Regions from separate parts of the Homo sapiens genome. Here region 1 is linked to region 2. The links are contacts of gene promoters, found by promoter capture Hi-C in blood cells and fetal thymus (Javierre and others, 2016). All regions are on one chromosome and are shown on one strand. Each heading gives the region's core, a stretch centred on a gene start or on the middle of the fragment in contact. The rest is flanking DNA. Distances are from core to core; before and after follow the strand shown. Region 1 overlaps TAOK3 (TAO kinase 3). Region 2 holds the start of IKBIP (IKBKB interacting protein).

Region 1 (4,729 bases), core at 245-2,744, about 20 Mb before region 2:
TACAGGTGCCCACCACCATACCCAGCTAATTTTTTGTATTTTTAGTAGAGACAGAGTTTCACCATGTTGGCCAAGCTGGTCTCGAACTCCTGACCTAAGGTGATCCACCTGCCTCAGCCTCCCAAAGTGCTGGGATTACAGGCGTGAGTCACCATGCCTGGCCTCAAATTTGTCTTGTAGCTGAAGACCCGTCATTTAAACTTGTTACTCCATAGGATGGACAACAACAATAACAATTGCTGAATGAGTGCTTGTTAGGTGCTAGGTATTACAATACATGCTTTATATAATGAGTATCTCAACGAACCTCTATAATGGATATTTGTGTAGATTCACATACATATTCTTACATAGACTTTACAGGGGTGTATACTGATGTTCAGAGAGGTTAGGTGGTTTGTTCAAGATCTGTGGCAGAACCTGGACTTAAACTCAGTTCTATGCCTGTGTTTATAACTGTTGGGCCATGTACCCCTCATTGTGAAGATTGGAATTAAATAACTCTGTACTGTTCTATTAGTGCCTACAGGATAAGTGCTACGTGGCCCCAAGATGTCATTCATATATGACAATACAAAAGCTGGTTAGATAACATGGCAACAATAAAAAGTTGTGGACTATTCAGTGAAGTTATGGGCTATTCAATACAGTTTAGGATTTTTAAAAAATCATTTTAGGCATGCAAAATAACTATCAGATTTTATTCATTTGAAATAATAATTTTATGTTATATTGTGAGTCTCACAGTGACTTTGTAAGGCATTATATCCTCACTTTGTAGATGAGGTTATGAAGGCTTAGAGAAGTTCAGCTGCATCCTAAAGACGCCACAGTTAAGTAAGAGAGTTAAGTGACTTGGCTGAAACCTAGATTTGCTGATTGAAAGGTCAGAGCTCTTTTCCTTTATACCACAAATTGAAGCTGTCATTTGGGGCATGAAACTAATAACTGTTTTTTGTGTTTTTTTTAATTTAGATAAAATTTTATGATATAAAACTTACCTTTTTAAATTATGAAATTCAGGTTTTTAGTATATTTGTGATGTTGTTACAATATCTAACCTCACCACTATCTAACTCTAGAACATTTTCATTACACCAAAAAGAATTTTGTACCTGTTAGCAGCCACTCTCAATTATCCCCAACCCCTGGTAAGCACTAATTTACTTTCTGTCTCTATGGATTTGCCTACTCTGGACATTTTGTATAACTGGAACAAGACAATATGTGTCTTTTTGTGTCTGACATCTTCACTTAGCATAATGTTTCAAGATTCATCCACATTGTAGCGTACATCAGTGATGATTCCTTTTTATGGCCAAATAATATTTCATTATATCTGTGTGCCACATTCTGATTATTCAAGAGTTGATGGATATTTTGGCTGCTTCTACTTTTTGGATATTAATAATGTTTCTGTGACAGTAAATATACAAGTTTTTAAATGAACATATTTTTCCATTCTCTTGGGTATATACCTAGAGTGGAATTGCTCATAATTACTTTTTGTAAAATAATTAAAATGAAAATGCTTTGAAATGATTTGAATCAGCCAGCGCGGTGGCTCATGCCTGTAATCCCAGCACTTTGGGAGGCCAAGGTGGGCGGTCACCTGAGGTCAGGAGTTTGAGACCAGCCTGGGCAACATGGTGAAACCCCAACTCTACTAAAAATACAAAAATTAGCTGGGTGTGGTGGTGAGCACCTGTAATCCCAGCTACTCAAGAGCCTGAGGCAAGAGAATTGCTTGAACCGCCTGGGAGGCAGAGGTTGCAGTGGGCCAAGAACGCGCCACTGCACTCCAGCCTGGGCAACAAGAGTGAGACCCGGGCAACAAGAGTGAGACCCGGGCAACAAGAGTGAGACCCGTTCTCAAAAAAAAAAAAAAAAAAAAGAAATTATTTTTTTTCTCCCCCCTCACAAAAACACACATAATATTGTGTATTTAGCTAATTCTTATCCCATATCTTTTCTTCAGAAATAAGGCAGAGGCTGGGCGCAGTGGCTCACGCCTGTAATCCCATCACTTTGGGAGGCTGAGACGGGTGGATCAAGAGGTCAGGAGATCGAGACCATTCTGGCTAACATGGTGAAACCCTGTCTCTACTAAAAATACAAAAAATTAGCCAGGCGTGGTGGCGGGCACCTGTAGTCCGAGCTACTCGGGTAGTTGAGGCAGGAGAATGGCGTGAGCCCGGGAGGCAGAGCTTGCAGTGAGCCAAGATTGTGCCACTGCACTCCAGCCTGGGTGACAGAGCGAGACTCCGTCTCAAAAAAAAAAAAAAGAAAGAAAGAAAGAAATAAGGCAGAAGCAGACTTAGACTTTAGCTCAGAGGCTGGACAAGTAGTCTTTAATTCCAGATGAATAGTCTGTGTTTAACACTGCCTCCTCCATTGAAGGCACTATGGAAAGCGAATAAGAATCCTGATGCAAGTCATATTCAATTAATGGAATTAAGAAAGGTCCATGTCCTTTAAAGGCAAAATAGAATGACATCAAGGTCAGCAAGAAGCTGTCAGGTACTTTCTATACATGAAGAAGGAAGAGATTACTTCCGTACTAGGGAGATGGGGTAACATGGAGATGGAGTTTGAACTGAGTCTTGAATTGTGGATACCTTTTCAGCAGGCGTGGTGGACATAATCAATGTATTTTTTGGCCTACAGACATAGTGAACAAAATGTAGGATATTCAGGGATAGTGGCAAATCAAAAGCCTTAGAGCCACATAACAGGAGGTTTGAACTTTGAACAGTAGATAGTGAGGAACCATTTAAGATATTTGAATAGAAAAGACTGATGCAATCAGAGCCTTTGAAAGATTACTCTATCAATAGTTTGTAGAATGACTTAAAGGAAGAAAGAAATTGAGAATGAGAACTTGGACTAGTAGTGAGGTTCTGGAACTAGGACAGCCTCAATGGAAAAGGAGAAAAGCAGCTTGTGAGAGATTTATTGAGGGCATTAACGGCTTGGCATAGAGAGCTAAAAGAACAGGAGTGAATCAGATAAATGAGAGAAAGTGCAGGGTAGAGAGGGGAAGCTCAGCACAGAATTTTGTGTTAAGAGGTTGAGAGAAGTAGGATAAGCCAGAAGAGGTGGGTTGGAAAGAAACTCCTAGAGGACAGTGCCACACAAACCAAGAAACAACCTTGTAAGGAGATGCGGCATAGAGGTTATGGAAGGATATGACCTGAGAGGACTCCTGTTGGACTTGGAAATGAGGAGGCTGGAGCTAGTGAGTTGCCAGAGCATCTTCCTGTCAGGAAAAGCTCCCCCTCCTCCCCTCAATAAATGATACCTTGAGCATGCTGTAGGCCAAAAGGAGGAGTTGGGAGAGAGGAAGCAACTGCGGATTGAAGAAAAATGAGAGGGGTGCATTAATGAAGTGAGAAGGTAGTAGGATAAAGAATTAAGAGGTCATTTGGACTGGGCCTTGTGGCTCACACCTGTAATCCCAGCACTTGGGGAGGCCTAAGTAGAAGGATTGCCAGAGCCCAGGAGTTCAAGCCTAGCCTGGGCAATAAAGTGAGATCTCATCTCTACAAATGATAATTTTTTTAAAAAAATTAGCTGGGTGTGGTGACACGTGTCTGCGGTCCCAGCTACTCAGGAGGCTGAGGTGGAGGATCACTTGAGCACGGGCAGTCAAGGCTTCAGTGAGCCAGGATCATGATCGTGCCACCGCACTCTAGCCTGGGTGACAGAGCGAGACCTGGTCTAAAAAAAGAAAAAAGGCCTATTGTTGGACAGAAGTGCTTGGCCTGATAAAGGAAAACTGAAGGAGGAAGACGAATGCATATACAGAGAAATTTTTAAATTGAGGAAGCTTACATAATGGCTTCACTGTAAAATTTATACTATTATTGCTTATTAGTAGTACCTACAGATAGAATAGTAACTACAGATAGACAAGTTAGATTTAGAAAATACCTTGCATTATCTCAGGCACATGTAGAAAGATTAAACTTTCCATTCTGTATAAATGTTTCATTCTTTTAGCTATGCATTGAACATATCTTTGCCTATGCTTTTAAATGCATTTGCCTGCCAAAACATAGCTATGTGATGTAATTATATAGACTACCAGTTAGGCCTGTTGAGTCCACATTTCTGCTAATTATTCAAGCTGTGTATTCTGAGTGCTAATAATAGTGGGAACTCAAGTACAGTATTTTGTTTAAAAATTAGTTTATAACCTTCAGTTTGAAATTTTTGTATAAATGTTTTATTCTTTCTAAAAGATGCCCCAAAACAATATTTTGTATTTTCTATAGAATAGAAATTTATTAGTAGTATGTTCTATAGCTTAGCAGGCACACTGTACAATTATTCATTTCATTGAAAGTAATGACAAATATATGTCACTTTGAAATTATAATTTCCCTGTTTTAAGATGTTGCCAAATCAGTTCTTTATCAGTCCTGATGTTGGGAGTTTCCAACTAGAAGACTTATTAGTAAATGAGTAGATGTGGAAGCTAAGCCTCCTTCATTACCCTTAACCCTTTCTCCTCTTCTCAACAAAGTGGTGAGAAGTCCCTGACCTAAGATAGTTCTTTTCATATATTTTTAATAGCTATACAAGTAATACATGTTTTTTGCTTTAATAAATAAAAAATACATGTGAGTAGTTAGAACAAAATAAAATTTATATTCTATACCTAGATATATTTTGACAGCCTTTCAGAATTTTTTTTAGGTAAAGTATTTTTAGGAATAGTAATTAG
Region 2 (4,445 bases), core at 1,378-3,877:
GGCGACAGACTGAGACTCTGTCTCAAAAAAAAAAACAAGTGTTGGTATCATATGAATATATATAGACGTTTAGAAGTTTATTCATCGAAATGTTTGAGTTACTTCTGAGTAGCAAAATTTGGGATTTCTCCCCCACCTTGTCTTATTTTTTTTTTTTTTTTAGTACAGACGGGGTTTCACCATGTTGACCAGGCTGGTCTTGAATTCCTGACCTCAGGTGATCCACCCGCCACAGCCTCCGAAAGTGCTGGGATTACACTTGTGAGCCCCACCATGCCCGGCCTCTACTGTCAATTTTTTTTAGCACACATTATCATTTCTTACAATAAAATACTTCCTTTTTTAATTAAGATTGTATAAAATAGTGATTACATTGAAGTCCTAATATTAAGAGACTTCTTGTTTTCCTTATCAAACATAAGAGTGAATAGAGCATTGTTACTATTGAGTATTAGTTCTCGTTCAAGGAGGATGTCAGCTCTAGGTCCTCCTTGCTAAACACATTTCCCACAAAGCAACAGGAAACACTTTCTGATGTGATTTCTCAGACCAGGAGGACATGAGGAAAGAATAACAGCCTTTATAGTAAAATACTTGACGTTTCTAGCAACTTTATTTCAAATATAATGCAAATTTTTCCATGGGCATAAAACCCAGTTCACAATATCTGCAAGTTTTCAAAACATTAACAGAACTTTACACAATGTATAGAGTGAAAGAGTCTAAACGGGTTTATCAATTCATTCATTCAATACACATTTGTGCCCCTCCCTATATGTCAGACACCAAGACTACAGAAAAGATTGAGTCATTTGCCTGAAATAATTCACAGTCTACTCAAAGAAGAAAAAGAGAGAGAGAGTGGGAATGTGAATGCCCGAAGTGCAAAAACAGAGCACAAGTAACTTGGAGCTCACAGAAGGGGGCAATAATTATCAAGCTTCAATGACTGTTTTTGAAGTCACCAAATGTAGCACTTGGAAAAACAGGGACGGACGTAGGGCATTTGCCTATGCTTGTCAAGGCTTACAAAATGCCCAGCAGGGGCACAAAACTGATAAAAAGTTATTGATTCGAATCAAAACTCTCATTTTTTAAAATGTTAATAACGTTTTTGTCCTCTTAAACATAAAATGTTCCTTAATTTATAGTAATGAAATTCGATGTGAAAAAACAAGAATGAATGAATTTTTTAGGTGATGTCCAATAGCTAAGCAAATAAGACACTCTGGTTTTCTGAAACTAATTTCCAATTTCACCTAGTCCTGTTAAACTAAAATATGCAAATCTTAAATACGTTTTAAAACTGCACAACTTATCTGAACTAAGTCTCAAAACCTTTTGTAACCCACAACAAAATGGAAAGCCAAAACTCTTCATGGACGTAAAACAGAAAACAGCGCACGTTTATCCACGAAAACCCCAAGTTTACTACTTCCTCATTACAGAATTTCTCTTCCTGGTACAGGAGCAGGATGGTTATCAAATATTCCATGTCCTCAAATTCTCAGTCCCTGAAATCAGCTACCAAGCCTCCAAAGAACCTGGCTCGGGGAGAAAAGCGAGGAGGTCAACTTACCCAAGCCTTTGCGCCTAGGTCTTAGTGGGGAGGGCGGCACTGCCGGGACAAGACTGGGAGACTCCAGGCCGGTGGAGGGAAACGGCAACAGGAGTTTTCCACCGGGAATTAGGGGTGCAGGGCTCTGTCTCGCCACATACCCTTCGCCCCGGGGCAGGTCCGGGCCTCACAGGCGCCTCCCCTGGATCTCTGCAGCCCCGGGGCGCACGAAGACCCCCAGGGACCTCCGAAGGTTGGCGAGGTGGGCGTCCACCCAACGCAGCCTGACCCCACAGTCCCGGAGCGCCGCGGTGAGGCCCGGCCCACGGGCCGCCCTCCGGTGGACCCCACTACTGGACACAAAGGGAGGAGGTCTTCCCGGCCTGTGGCGCCCTTCCCCCGACGGCGGCTGCACCCCGGAGGGAGCCCGGCGCTACTCCGGATGCCGCTGCGGCACCTCAAGTCTTCGCGGGTCGCCGACTGCCCAGACTCCCCACCTCTGGTTCTATCCCTTTTGCCCGGGATAGAGCAGTCACGTCCACTCGCTACCTCTTCTTCTCCGCCTCTGGACAGCGGAGCAGTCAAATCCCGCCGGATCCACCCAGCCCGGACGGCGCGCGCCCGCTTATGCAAATAAACACACCCCAAGCCCCAAGGGGCGGCCACCGCTGCCGCCGCGCACTCCTGCCACGGCTCATGCCCGCGCGCGTAGAAGTGCCCGCCTACCCCGCGGACGGGGCGTGGCTAAGCCTCAGGGACGCGCCGCGTTCCCACCAATGCCGGACTCGGGCAGCGGCGGCGCGCCCGACGTGGCGCGCGCGACCCCTTCGTCCTGCCCCTCCTCCTCGGGTCCCGTCGGCCTGCGCGCGCCCGGGAGTTTGAATTTCCTCGGATTTGGAGCAATATCGCAGTGGAAGGCGCTGTGGGTTGAGGTCGCCGCCCACCTCTCCTAGGGGAACTATGGAGCTGGCAGCTGAAAGACTCAGTGAAGCAACGAGGATGCCGGGGAGAGGGAAGGGGCTGGGCTCTGGGCGGTGCCAAGTCTGTGAGGGGGCGCGGTCACCGCCCAGGGTTCCCACGAACGCCAAGGCGGCCACGTCCTGCTCCCCCTGGTGAAGAAGCTGCCCTGGGCTTGTCGTCCTAGGGTCTCCAGACATGTCTGAGGTGAAGAGCCGGAAGAAGTCGGGGCCCAAGGGAGCCCCTGCTGCGGAGCCCGGGAAGCGGAGCGAGGGCGGGAAGACCCCCGTGGCCCGGAGCAGCGGAGGCGGGGGCTGGGCAGACCCCCGAACGTGCCTGAGCCTGCTGTCGCTGGGGACGTGCCTGGGCCTGGCCTGGTAAGTGGACGCGAGGCTGCCTGGGCCGGCCTCCTGTGGGCCCCCTGCTGTTTGGGCTCCCACCCGGCTCAACATCCAGCCGGAGGTGATCCAACCTCCCAGACCTGGGCCTTCTGTGCCTCTGTCTTGACCCCAAAGGAAGGAAACAGCCCAGCCTTGTTTTTCCCTTTCGGGCGTTTCTTGTATCTCATTTCCCCCCGTGCTGGTAGCATGCCCCTATCGCTCAGAAGGAGTTGAGGCTAAGGTTTGGGAACGAGCCATTTGTTAAGAGCTGCAGATTCGGCCACGCTTTCTGAAGCTCCCGCTACACGTCAGAAGCGTTCACGTTGTTATAAACCGTTACTTCCTGTCCGCTGTGCCCCATTCCGGGACACATCTGCCCCACCCTACTCACCCCATAAATACCTAATGGAAATACTTGCAACCTTAAAACAGATCATTATGTTTGGAGACCGAGGCAGGTGGATCACTTGAGGTCAGGAGTTCGAGACTAGCCTGGCCAACATGGTGAAACCCCATCTCTACCAAAAATACGAATAATCAGCCGGGCGTGGTGGCGGGCGCCTGTAGTCCCAGTTCCTCCGGAGGCTGAGGCAGGAGAATCGCTTGAACCCGGGAGGCGGAGGTTGCTATGAGCCAAGATCGCATCACTGCACTCCAGCCTGGGCGACCGAGCGAGACTCCGTCTCAAAAAAAAAAAAAAAAGAAAACCATATCATTATGCTCCCAAAGGAGCAAACGTTATAGTAGCAGAGCTTGGAGGAGTGCTCATATTTTGATCACCGTGCATGCATTATGAATTTAAGGTCTTTTATTAAGTAAGTTACAGATTGAATATGGTAAAGCTACAAAAACATAGCACTTGTGTTCACTTAAAACTAACCAGTTGCAGTTTTAAAATCAGGTAAATGGCGATATATTGGTGTCATTAGGAAAAATGAATATTAGAAATAACCTTAAAACCAACTCGTAAAAAAAGAAAAAAGAAAAAAACCAACTTGTGAATTTTATTTTCCCAGCCTTTTTTTTTCTGGCGGGAGGAGGGAATAGCCCATTTCATTTTAATAAGATTGGCATCTTAATAGAATTTTTCTCCATTTTTCATTCATGTGTAAAGTTATTTAGTAAGACTGTTGTTAATCTTCCAGAGTGATAGAATTTTAGAAGAGACCCTGGACATCTAGACATTTTTTATGCTACTACATATGGAATTATACTTTACTGGTGACTCATCCCAAATAGTGTATTTTTCAGAGTTAAAAGATTTGTTACGGCTGGGCGCGGTGGCTCACACCTGTAATCCCAGCACTTTGGGAGGCCGAGGTGGGCAGATCATGAGGTCAGGAGTTCAAGACCAGGCTGGCCAACATGGTGAAACCCTGTCTCTACAAAAAATACAAAAATTAGCCAGGCTTGGTGGCACAAACCTGCAATCCCAGCTATTCAGGAGGCTGAGGCAGGAGAATCACTCGAAATGGGGAGGTGGAGGTTGCAGTGAGCTGGGATCGTGCCATTGCACTCCAGCCTGGGCAACAGAGCGAGACTCCATCTCA

Evidence for each region. Contacts are between HindIII fragments. The CHiCAGO score rates a contact against its expected background, and 5 or more counts as called.
Region 1: a contact is called between a fragment that was not itself captured here and the fragment with the promoter of IKBIP in region 2, in 1 of 17 cell types (M0 macrophages). The highest score is 6.5, in M0 macrophages.

What each region holds. Positions count from the first base shown.
Region 1 is chr12:118,346,011-118,350,739 of GRCh38, reverse strand. The region is part of intron 1 of TAOK3 (TAO kinase 3); the gene reads left to right. Among named protein-coding and RNA genes, the nearest start is that of TAOK3, 25 kb to the left of the region's middle. The HindIII fragment of the contact is 4,674 bases long and covers 1-3,831 here.
Region 2 is chr12:98,642,970-98,647,414 of GRCh38, reverse strand. IKBIP (IKBKB interacting protein) reads left to right here and starts at 2,627. Exons shown (of 3, transcript NM_153687.4): 1 at 2,627-2,892. The coding sequence starts at 2,714. APAF1 (apoptotic peptidase activating factor 1) reads right to left here and starts at 2,125. Exons shown (of 27, transcript NM_181861.2): 1 at 1,580-2,125. RefSeq lists silencers at 1,721-1,930, 2,251-2,450 and enhancers at 2,027-2,654, 2,655-3,281, 3,282-3,909. The HindIII fragment of the contact is 4,349 bases long and covers 943-4,445 here.